2 separate regions of the Homo sapiens genome follow, and region 1 is linked to region 2. The links are contacts of gene promoters, found by promoter capture Hi-C in blood cells and fetal thymus (Javierre and others, 2016). All regions are on one chromosome and are shown on one strand. Each heading gives the region's core, a stretch centred on a gene start or on the middle of the fragment in contact. The rest is flanking DNA. Distances are from core to core; before and after follow the strand shown. Region 1 overlaps EEPD1 (endonuclease/exonuclease/phosphatase family domain containing 1). Region 2 holds the start of EEPD1 (endonuclease/exonuclease/phosphatase family domain containing 1).

What was found. Contacts are between HindIII fragments. The CHiCAGO score rates a contact against its expected background, and 5 or more counts as called.
Region 1: a fragment that was not itself captured here is called in contact with the fragment with the promoter of EEPD1 in region 2 in 1 of 17 cell types (monocytes); the score reaches 5.6 in monocytes.

Annotation. Positions count from the first base shown.
Region 1 is chr7:36,217,303-36,223,627 of GRCh38, forward strand. All of the region lies in intron 2 of EEPD1 (endonuclease/exonuclease/phosphatase family domain containing 1), which reads left to right. Among named protein-coding and RNA genes, the nearest start is that of EEPD1, 67 kb to the left of the region's middle. The HindIII fragment of the contact is 2,748 bases long and covers 1,621-4,368 here.
Region 2 is chr7:36,150,276-36,156,290 of GRCh38, forward strand. It overlaps EEPD1 (endonuclease/exonuclease/phosphatase family domain containing 1), which reads left to right and starts at 2,979. Exons shown (of 8, transcript NM_030636.3): 1 at 2,979-3,399; 2 at 3,858-4,927. The coding sequence starts at 4,050. RefSeq lists a silencer at 2,391-3,110. The HindIII fragment of the contact is 12,213 bases long and covers 1-6,015 here.

The DNA.
Region 1 (6,325 bases), core at 1,745-4,244, 67 kb after region 2:
AGGGTAACTTCCTATAAACTGTCACTTACAAACTGTCATGGCACTGGCGAGAGTGTCTTTTAGCATGCTAATGCATTATAATTAGTGTGTAACGAGTAGTGAGGATGACCCGCGGTCACTTTCATCACCATCTTGGTTTTGGTAGGGTTGGGCCAGCTTCTTTACTGCAGCCTCTTTTATCAGCAAGGTCTTCATGACCTGTATCTTGGGGCAACCTCCTATCTTATCCTGTGACTTAGAATGCCTAACCTCCTGGGAATACAGCCTAGTAGGTCTCAGCCTTATTTTACCCAGCCCCTATTCAAGATGGAGTTGTTCTGGTTCAAATGCCTCTGATAACTTTTAAAACAAATAACCAAAAGATTCCTGTGAAATGTGCTCTTATAATTGCTATTGTAAACAACTCCCTGCCCAGAGAACCTAACTGGCTGGTTTGTGTTACAGGGAGAGAGGGGGGATTGCTTTTTACTGATTAGAGAGGCCATGGGCTCTAACAAAACCCAGAGGTGAATTTCACCTGGCCTAAAAGGAAGAGAAACCTTGCTAAGAGGTGAAAGGTCAGCAGTGAATGCCAAAGGAGGAATTTTGGCTGGAGTATTAATTTGCAATCACAGACCCTGTATTGTGTTAGCTAACTTTCTAATTTTCAGTATGCTCTGAAAGCAGAAATTTCTTTTTCTCTTGTGTGTTCAGTTAATCACTCTTACTCTTTCCTAGAGAAATGAAACAAGAAGTTCTTAAGATGGTGGCAATGAGTGGTTGAGAACAGCAGCAGTAAGCCTGGCTGGGCAGAAACGATACTCTGATTGTTATTAAGAACTGCGTAACGGTCCCTAGGGGCCCAGGGCAGAGCCAGTATCATTCTATTTTCAAGTGCACGAGGGGGGCTCATTTATACTGAATACAGTAGTCCCCCTTGTCCTCGGAGGTTATCTTCCAAGACTTCAGATGTGCCAAACCCTATATACTGTTTTTTCCTATCCATACATACCTATGGTAAAGTTTAACTTATAAATTAGGCACAGAAAGAGATTAACAACAATAATAATAAAATAGAAAAATTCTAATAGGAGGGGGAGGAAGAGGAGGAAAAAACTAAAAAAAAAATTATAACAATAGACTGTAATAAAATTTATGTGAATGTGGTCTCTCTCTTTCTCAAAACACCTTATACTGTACAGACTCACCCTTCTTCTTGTGCTGATGTGAGATAATAGGAAGGCTGCTAAGTGTCTAAAGGATGGGAAGCATCTGCAGATGAAGACGCTGAGCAAAGGGAGGGTTCACATCCCTGGTGAGACACAGCGGTGCAGTGTGAGATTGTGAATTGTATATTTCCAGAATTTTCCATTTAATATTTTTGGACTGTGATTGACTGTGGGTCACTGAAACCATAAAAAAGTGAAACTGCAGATATGGGGTGACTGCTGTACTATGTGAAAATATCACCCTCTTTTTGCTAAAAATATGTGATCAAATGTAAAGTTGGGCCTTAGAAATAGGCATGTTATGGTGGCTTGACAAGCTTAGGATGGGAACATTAGAAGGTGGAAGAGAAGTAGGCTGGTGGGAAGGAGAATGGCGATTTTGTCCAGATGAGGAGGGAATTTGGTTAATAAAAGCTTAAGGCTGGAGCCTAGGAGAAAGGCCTGGAGGAGAAGTGTTAATACTGGGTTTAGGTAGAGCAAGAAAGTGGGGTTTCGGGTTGGTATCTGGAAGTCTGTAGGAAGTTCCCTGCAGAAAATAAGAGAAATTATTTTTCCTTTGTGGGAAATATCAAAAACCAAATCATTGGATTGTAACATACTTTGAAATCCATCTTAGAAAATAAGATGGATCGATGTCTGATTGGGTGGGCAGATGTGTGATAATGATAATGCTAATTGTGGAATGTAGGCAGTGTGTCTATGAGTCTTCACCATATAGTGCCCTAAACTTTCTTGTAGATTTAAAAAATTCAAAATTTAAACGTTAGGAACAAAAGAGCAACTAGATGGCAAAGCCTAAACTCGTGGTCATTTTACAGGAAAAAAAAAATCAAGTAACAAGGAATCTCCTATGAATTCCAAAATACAAAAGGTGGGGACCTGGCTGGGTGTGGTGGTGTACACCTGTAATCCCAGCACTTTGGGAGGCCGAGGCAAGAGGATTGCTTGAGTTTGAAACCAGCCTGAGCAACTTAGCAAGACCCTATTTCAAAGAAGGAAGGAAGGAAGGAAAGAAAGGAAAGGAAGGAAAGGAAGGAAGGAGAGGGGAAGGGAGGGGAGAGAGAAGGAAAGAAGAAAAGAAGAAGAAGGAGGAAGAGGAAGGAAGGAAAGAAGGAAAGAAGGAAAGAAAAGAAGAAGGAGGAAGAGGAAGGAAGGAAAGAAGGAAAGAAGGAAAGAAGAAGAAAGAAGTGGGGACCAAAAACAGCCCAATCCCCTAATTACTGGCCTGATAGTTGGCCAGCATGCATTTAAAGAGAGAGAGAGAAAGAGAGAGAGAGAGAGAGAGAGAGAGAGAGAGTGTGTGTGTGTGTGTGTGTGTGTGTGTGTGTGTTCATTCTCACAGGCTTGGATACACATAAAGAGATATATAAAACATGAAAGATTACAGTATTTGAGGGGAAGCTAGTGAATGGAAAGGAAAGGTAGGAAAATCAGACATGATTGGCCCCTGGAAGTCCATCCCACATGGCCTGAGCAGGTTGCGGGAAGAAGAGCACAGGAAAATGGAAGTACAGAAGGGAACAGGCCCAGCTAGAGTCCCCTCTGCTACCAGGTGAGGTCGTGGAGGATGGGGATGCTGTCCCCACAGTAGATGCAGAAAACTAGTTTGATCTTGTTGTTTCTCATGCTTCCTCCAGTGAAAGCCAAGAAATAATCAAAGAACAATTCAGGAAGAACAATTGGGAAGAAGGGCGGTAAAAATGACTTTTTCCTGAAGGAACAAATACCTTCAGATGATGTTTGCAGCATTTTCTGATTTTATTGAGCAGATGGCTCCTTCTTGGGTGAAAGCATGTTGAAAAACTTAAGGGGGAAGGGAAAGGCTCAAGTTCCAAGGAGAAGTCCCCAATTCACTTGGGTTAGGGAGGTGAATGGTACCAGTCAGAGAGCCCTCCTTGCTTTGAAGACATCTGGACTTGTATCATCATAACCACGTGGATTAAGAATAACCAAAAAGAACCTCATGGAAGTTCCATAGCTTCATCTCTTGCCAATTGGATGTGACACTGGGGAGGAAGTTTGGGATGAAAGAAAGAGGTACCTGTAGAAGCCCTGAGCTCCAGTGGCAAATGGCACTTTGCTCTTTCTATTCATTTGGCCCCGTTGTCCTCATCTCTAGAGCAGAGCTAATGGCATCGACTCCATCTCATATCCTGCAGAGAACATGAAAATGTCTCTGATGTCTGTGGTTCAGAGTGTGTCAGATGGTATTGAAAAATGCTTTGTCCTTCTCCTTTCACCCTCTGCCCATAACAAACTTATAACTACACTGAATTCGGTTTTTGTTTTGTTTTGTTTTGTTTTTTTGAGATGGAGTCTCGCTCTGGTGCCCAGGCTAGAATGCAGTGGTGCAATCTCGGCTCACTGCAACCTCCACCTCCTGGGTTCAAGTGATTCTCCAGCCTCAGCCTCCTGAGTAGCTCGGATTATAGGTGCCCACCACCACACACCACCACACCTGGCTAATTTTTGTATTTTATTAGAGACAGGGTTTCACCATGTTGGTCAAGCTGGTCCAGAACTCCTCGCCTGAAATGATCAGCCTGCCTCAGCGTCCCAAAGTGTTTAGATTACAGGCGTGAGCCACTGCGTCCAGCCAACTACACTGAATTTGTAAATTATCAAGGTAGTAATTTTTCTCAGTTTGAGGGAAGAGTTTCATCCTTCAGTTTAAAATAACCTAATATGTAATTTCTTTTCAACATTTTATACAACCTTATCTTTTGGAGCTCTGTTCCGTATCATCTTTTAATAAACTTGCATTTTGAATGAATGTTACAGCTTTGAAAGTATTTAAGAGCCAGCTCTATGGTATGTGTTTTGCTTATTATCTGTGTATCTTTTTACTTTTAGCTTTAGAAGATGGAGAGCAAAACTGTTTTGTATACTCAGCTCCAGAAAAGTTATAATATTCTTTGTACTTCTTTAAGAAGGATGAGCCTGGATTGATCTGGAATTAAAGTGCTAACTGTTAAAGAATGTAATCAGATTATTTAATAATAATAACAGGGACACTGCAGGACTGCATATACCAGCCTGGCACCATAAAATCTGAACTCAGCAATTCCACCGTAACAGGAACATTTTCAGGTTGTGGGTCAATCATTTAGATCCTGTTTTTTTAAGTGGCTAGAATACCAGTGTGATTTTGAGGAATGAAAGCTTTATATTCTGATCAGTTCTAAAAAAGGTAAGAATCATGTATGAGGTCATGTCCATTTCAATTCAGATAAATATAATAACTGTCATTTATGGTGTACCTATTATATACTAGAAGCAATATATTGTAATAAATGCCATTTCAATGATTTTCTAAATAGCTGCAGTCATTATCCTGATTTTACAGATGAGAAAATCCAATCTCTGATCAAATGCCTTTTTATGGGACAGGTCCTCTGTGTCCCCCCCACAGCACACTGGCCACACATGTACCTGTGCTCCCTGTCACTCATACTCCCTTACCTGGCTTTATTTTTAATACATTTATCATCACTAGACACATTATATAGTGGCATTTATTTTATATTGTATTCAGGATCGTTAACCCTTGAACAACATGGGGGTTAGGGGAGCCAACCCGCCCTCCCCTGCAAAATTGAAAATTCACATAGAACTTTTGACTCCCCCAAAACATAAGTACTACCAGCCTACTGTTGACCAGAAGCCTTACTGATAACCTGATAGTCAATTAACAAGTATTTTGTATGTCATATGTACTGTATGTTGTATTCTTACAAATAAAGTAAACTAAGGAAAAGAAAATGGTATTAAGAGAATCATAAGGAAGAGAACATATGTTTACTAGTCATTAAGTGTAGTGGATTATCATAAAGGTCTTCATCTTTATCATCTCCATGTTTTGAGTAGGCTGAGGAGGACAAGGAAGAGGAGGGGTTGGTCTTGTTATCTCAGGGTGGCAGAGGCAGAAGAAAATCCACCTGTAAGTAGACCCGCACAATTCAAACCTGTATTGTTCAAGGGTGAACTGTATATATAACAGAAATATTGCACATTATATAATTATGTGATAATTATATAATGTTTGTTGCAGATCCTTCCTGTCTCAGTGTTTTTGGAGTACAATAACAAAATACTATATACTGGGTGATTTATAAACAAAAGACATTTATTTCTTACAGTCTGGAGGCTGGCGAGTCTAAGATCAAGGCACCGGCTAATTCAGTGTCTGGCAAGGGCCCATTTCCTAGTTCATAGATGGCATCTTCTAGCGGGGTCCCCACTTGGTGGAAGGAGCAAAGCAGCTCTCTTCGTGCCTCTTTTATAAAGTCACTAAACCCTCATGTCCTAATCACCTCCCAAAGGCCTCACCTCCTAATGCCATCACACTGGTCATTAAATTTCAACACAGGTGGCTCACGCCTGTAATCCCAGCACTTTGGGAGGCCAAGGCAGGCAGATCGCTTGAGGTCAGGAGTTCGAGACCAGCCTGGCCAACATGGCAAAACCCCATCTCTACTAAAAATACAAAAATTAGGCAGGCGTGGTGGCGGGTGCCTGTAATCCCAGCTACTTGGGAGGCTGAGACAGGAGAATCGCTTGAACCCGGGAGGCAGAGGTTGCAGTGAGCCAAGATCACGCTACTGCACTCCAACCTGGGCGACAGAGTGAGACTGTGTCTCAAAAAATAAATAAATAAATAAATAAATAAAAGTAATAATAAGAAATAAATTTTAACACAGTAATAATAAGAAATAAATTTTAACACAGACCTCAGCACCTCCTCACTATTGCATGCTGGGTGGAGCTGGTGTGCAAGGGCTCTTGGGAGCTTTTTGTGCGCATCTCTTCCCAGCTCCACACTGAGTCACACCAGACTGGTGACTTGAAATGGGCCTTGGTGGGAGTATGTAAGACACCACAGAAATTGGCAAATGAGGCAACTCCTCTGCATCCCCCACCCCTAGAGCCAGTGGTTAAACATTGACCTGCAGGCCACCACTCCCCACCCCTCATTAGAACGTAAGCTTCGTCAGAGTCAAGATTCTGTTTTGTTCCTTGCCCTATCTCTGGTGTTGAGAACTATGCCAGGCACATAGTAGATGCGTAGTAAATATTTGTTGAATAAATAAAAAGCAGTGCATGCTTTTAAATTATAT
Region 2 (6,015 bases), core at 1,729-4,228:
GAAATAGCACAGCAGATAAAATAGACTGTTAGCCGTAAGTTTAAAGGCCTCTGTCGCCCACTTTCCTGAGCCCCCAAGCCAAGCTGGGGAATGTTCTCTTCTATTAGCTGTCTGTTCAACTTCTTGGACCCCTTCATCCCCCTCCTAAACCTTTTCATCTCCACCCAGGCTCACGTACCCCACTCTCCCCAAAAACAAGGCCTATGTTTTTTTAGATTCAGAGAAAATTTTTTTTCATTTTTTGAAGATTTTTCCAAAGCTGTTGTCACTGAAGTACACCCAAATGCACATATTTAAAGTATACGATTCTGTCAGTTTTGACATTCATATGCCCATGAAACTATCACCTCTCAAACTACATTGCCATCAGCCCCCAAAGTTTCTTTGTGCCCTTTAAAATCCATTCCTCCCTCCCCATCATCCCCAGGTAACCACTGATCTGCTTTCTCTATATGTATGTCAGTTTGTATTTTCTGGTGTTTTATATAAATAGAATCATACAGTATGTTCTTTTTTGCCTTGCTTCTTTCACTCAGTATAACGATTTTGAGACTTTTCAATGTCATGTAATAGTTTGTCTTTATTGCTCAGTAGCATTCCATTGTATGGATATACTACAATTTATTCATTCATCCACTGATGGATTTGAGTTTCTTGTTGTTTTGCTTTGTGTGTGTGTGTGTGTGTGTGTGTGTGTGTGGGTGTGTGTGTGTGTGTGTGTTTGGCTATAACAAACAAAGCTCCTATGAACATCCACATTCAAGTCTCTGGGTTTCATGTTTTCCTTTTTCTTTGGTAAATACCTATAAGTAGATTGGTTGAGTCATATGGTAAGTATACGTTTAACTTCTTAGGAAACTTCCAAACTGATTTCCAAAGTAGTGGTGCCATCTTACACCTCCACCAGCAATGTATGACCATTTCAATTGCTCTGCGTCCTCACCAACATTGGATACAATCAGTCGTTTTAAAGTTAACCATCTCATTGCATGTTTTTGTGGGGTGTATGTATGTGTGTTTTTAAATGCACTTTGGTTTGGCCAACGCTTGGTTTCATTTATACCAAGGGGAGCATTTGCTAGGTTTATGGGGAATAAAACCAGATTATTTCTGTTGTTCTAGGATATTATTAATAGAGTCCTCTCTTCACCTCCAGAGTGTCCTGGTTTGTATGATAAAATATGTTTTCTCTGCTTCCAGCCCAAGTAGCCACGCTCCACGGCTGTGCTTCCACAGCCACGTTGCGCATCAAGGCATTCTGCTCAACGAAGAGTTTTCTCTGTTTTCCTGCTTGTCTTAAACTGTTTTTTCCTTACCGCACCAGGATTTCAGTGCGTGGCATAATGTAGCCCAGTGTTTGGGTGGGAGATGATGGTAGGTAGCAAGGCATTTTTGCGATCAAGTGCAAATAGCTTGCCTAAAAATAAAGCCAATAAAGAGAACCGTGGAGCCAGAGATGGAGGCAGTCCTGCCATGTCCTAATGACCCCATCATCACTTGGGTCGGATGCAACCAGACTTGAGGTAAGATTCCTTACCTTAACTTTTCAACAAGGAACCAAAAATTTCCCCCCGACCTTTTTTTTTTTTTTTTTGGTCTAAGCTAGTTTGACTTGGTTTTCTGACCAATATACATAGCAGGGGAATGTGCCTCAGAAAGGCAGTAGCATTTTCCAAACTTGGGCTGCCGCTAATTTTACAACCAAAGTACCTTCCGCCTGTGAGAGGTACTATTTTTGCTGACCCAGTCCTTGGAATTGAAACCAGATGCACTGGTCACATTGGTTGGGGATGAAACTTCAGAGAACACTAAACGTCCAGGGTCAAAGTATTCAACGATATCACCGCATGATTTGCTTAATCGAATACTCTAGCTCTAGGTATCCACTATAATGCAGAGGGCTCTTTAATCTTTAACCAAATTGTCATTTAGCAGTGTGATGCAAAAACTCTTCTGGGTTTTGGGAAGCAGCCCCCATTTCCCTCCTTCGTAATGATTAGACTTAATATTACAAAAACTTATCCTTGTTTACTCACAGCGCTAAATGTGCAAAGGAGCAAACCTGTATTTGACCTATGCGAACACACAGGAGGGTGGTGCGTGCCCTCTGCTAGGAGCACAATGCGTCGCTGGCGTTATTAGAGGACATCTCTCTGAGCGGAGCAAAGGTAATACACTGGTGGAAGAAAAGAAAAGGCCGAAAGTGGGGACAGAAATTAAGACGATCCCATTCAGTCTCCTCTGGAACGTTCTGCAAAATTCCGTGAGACCCTGGACCTACAGCGATGCACTCTCAGGGACTGCCCCGGCCTTCATCCCCACACCTCAAAGACAGACGAAAAGCAGCTGAGCAGATCTCGCCTCGGGCAATCCTAAACAGCCTCTACCAGGCACAACCAGTCCTAGGCCCCGGGCGGCAACCATGGTCCGGGGGCAGCTGACTTAGGACAGCCTCCCTGTGACCCGCCCTCGCCGGCACGGCGCCGGCTCCGCCCCTTAAGCCCCCTAAGTCCCGCCTCTGCGCTCCCGGGGCCTACCCCCGCGCTCATGGCCCCGCCCCCGCTTTTCCTACCCCATCGCGCCCTGGCCCCGCTCCCACACTCTATGACCCCGCCTCTCGCACTCCAGGCCCGCCCCACGCGCTCCAGGGTTCTGCTCTCCACCCATTTGTGCCAGGCCACGCCCCCACACCCATGGCTCCTCCTCTCGCACGCCAGGGCCTCCCCTCGCGCTCTCTGGTTCGTTCTCCACCCTCTTGAGCCTTGATGCCGCCCCCTCTTCCATGGCCCCGCCTCTCCCACTCCAGGCCCGCCCTTGCGCTCTCGGGTTCCTCTCTCCACCCACTGGTGCCAGGCCTCGCCCCGCGCCAGGGCCCCTCCCCCACGTGCCCTCGGGAGTCCCGGGGAGGAGTTGCCGCGCGGAGGAGGCGTGGCCGCGGTGCCTGCGGAGGCGCGAGCGGCGCGGCGCGGCGCGGCCGGGACTTTGGCTTTGACACCGACTGCGAGCGGGAGCCGTGCGGCTGGTGCTGGGTCTGGACTGGCTCTGGCGGATCCCCGCCCGAGTTGGGCGCAGGACTTTTTGCCGGGGTAAACGCAACTGCGGCGGCGCCGCCGCAAGCCCCGGTGCAGCCTCGGCGGCGGGTTTCGCCGCCGCTGCCGCCGCCTCCGAGCAGCCCTGCGGCTTCTATTCACTCTGGGAGAGCGATGCTAAGTTTCTCCCATAGAAAGAGCCGGGACACGCAGACCGAAGCGGCGTAGTCGGCTTCCAGGGCCTGACCAGTGACCCACACCCGCGCGGACGCCTAGGCTGGAGGCAGGGGGCCCGTGCTGTCCCGGGCTGGGCTCAGGCTTCCGAGCCGCAGGTGGAAGAGGAACCGGCGCCCCGCAGAGCGGCCGAGAGGTGGGGCGCGGGGACCCGCGGCAGGTCGGGTGGGGGGTCGATAAGCCCCTTCTCAGTGCCCGCTCCGGGGAGCACGGACTTCCCAGGTTGCAGGTAGCGCTGTGTCAGATGCGGAGCGTGGGGGAGGTGGAGTGGCCACCCCGTCTGCGCGAGCCCAAGTGTGGGTGACCCAAGTGTCAGAGTTGAGAGAGGCCTGGAGGAGAGGCATGAGGCTGATGGGGATAGGTCTCTTCCCAAGAGAAGCGGCTCGTAGCCTTTTTGGACTCCAGTGTGATAAAACCCGGACGTCCCTAGAGGAGAATCCACATGGGCCTAGCCTCATTGTGCCTGCGTTTTTAGGGGTTCACGGGCAGCCACCAGTCCCCGACTCCTGGTTACTAACTCTAGCACTAGGTAGGGGGTGCTAATGCAAATTTCTTAATTCAATGGGTTTCTATGTTTATTGATTTATTTTCTAGGCGGCCAAGTGAAAGGTAATTTTGGACACGCCAGGCATGGAAGATTCGGTGTTTGTCTATAGTAACCTCTTCAGTCCCTGAATCCTGCACCTTCCGTTTTTCTGTGCTTGTACGGCCTACTGGGCTTCCTCCCTAGCCAGAGAGCTCTTCTGCAGTGGTGCGGCCTTCCCGGGAGCCTGATCCTGGCGGACCATGGGGAGCACCCTGGGCTGCCACCGCTCCATCCCCAGGGACCCCTCGGACCTGTCCCATAGCCGCAAGTTCAGCGCAGCCTGTAACTTCAGCAACATTCTAGTGAATCAGGAGCGGCTCAACATCAACACTGCCACGGAGGAGGAGCTGATGACCCTGCCTGGGGTGACGCGTGCCGTGGCACGCAGCATCGTGGAGTACCGAGAGTATATCGGTGGCTTCAAGAAGGTGGAGGACCTGGCATTGGTCAGTGGTGTAGGCGCCACCAAGCTGGAGCAGGTCAAGTTTGAGATCTGTGTGAGCAGCAAGGGCAGCTCAGCGCAGCACTCTCCCAGTTCCCTGCGGCGGGACCTGCTAGCGGAGCAGCAGCCTCACCACCTGGCCACAGCTGTGCCCCTCACCCCACGTGTTAACATCAACACAGCCACCCCGGCCCAGCTCATGAGCGTGCGAGGCCTCTCGGAGAAAATGGCCCTCAGCATCGTGGACTTCCGCCGTGAGCATGGGCCCTTTCGCAGCGTTGAGGACCTAGTGAGGATGGATGGTATCAATGCCGCCTTCCTGGACAGGATCCGGCACCAGGTGTTTGCTGAGAGGTCCAGGCCCCCATCCACCCACACGAACGGGGGACTGACCTTCACCGCCAAGCCTCACCCGAGCCCCACTTCCCTGAGCCTGCAGAGTGAGGACCTGGACCTGCCGCCAGGGGGGCCCACCCAGATTATCTCCACTCGGCCGTCCGTGGAGGCCTTTGGAGGCACAAGGGATGGGAGGCCTGTGCTGAGGCTGGCCACCTGGAACTTGCAGGGCTGTTCCGTGGAGAAGGCCAACAACCCCGGGGTGCGAGAGGTGGTGTGCATGACACTCCTGGAAAACAGGTGAGGACAGGAACCACCATGGGTGTTGGGTGTGAAGGCAACTTGTGCGTGACCTCATCTATGGATGCAAATGAATGGATTCTTTTGCGGGTAGGGAGGGTGCAAGAGTTTTTAATCAATGTTCTTGAAGCCTCAGCCAATACCGTCACCTGAGAATGGGCTGTCCTTCTGCTCCAGAATTTTCTGAATACAGCTGGGCTTGTGACCCATGTCTTGAGTGTGAGATATCTGAGACTGATTCATAATTTTGGGGTAAGCAGAGGTTGTGTTTTTGTTACTGCTTTGGAGGATGCTGGGTCTACACCAAGTCAGGCACTCAGAGCATGGGAACTGGTGCAGTTTCGCATGTGAGAAAGAGCTCATTGGATTTTGTTTATTAATGGGAGGGAAAATCATATTTGTTCCATCAAATATGCCTATTTGTGCACACAAAATCATCTTAAAGGCCAAGTATTTGCAAACACATACAAGTGTCTATATTTACCAAAATGCTATGAATGAATCACTCTCCATTCTTTTTCCTTATTTAACCTGGAGTTGGTTTTCAGCCCTAAAATTGTAGCCCAAAATGTGTGTAACCTTTTCTGTGCCATAGCCAGAAAAAAGCAAGCTGACGTGTGTGTGTGAAAATTGGCCGGATTTTCCCCATTTAAACCAAAGAAAAGAGTCCAGTAGGATAGGCCGTTACCACAGAGCGTTTATGTTATTCACAATACTGCTCTCTGTAGGAATTTCTGTTAGCCTCGTCATAAACAAAAACAATATTATTTTGGCAGTAACTCCTGCTGTTAGTAAAATAGCAAACTGTATAATGTAATCAGGTGTGGGAAAGAAAGAAATATTTGTGATGGTCCCTTCCAGGTCATAAGAGCTGTGATCCTGGACTTGAGGCGTTTTGCCCTGCCACCCACCAGGGGTGCAGTGTTTGTGGCTACTCGTTGATTTCCTTTGCACTGAGTTGTTGGTGAGGCTGGCGGCGGGGGGGCAGCAGTTTGGTGACACGAAGTGAACTCTCAGCGGGAAATCACAGTGCATGATGGCAGATCACCAGGAAAATTAGTGAGGAGAAAAGCAGGTCACAACGTTTC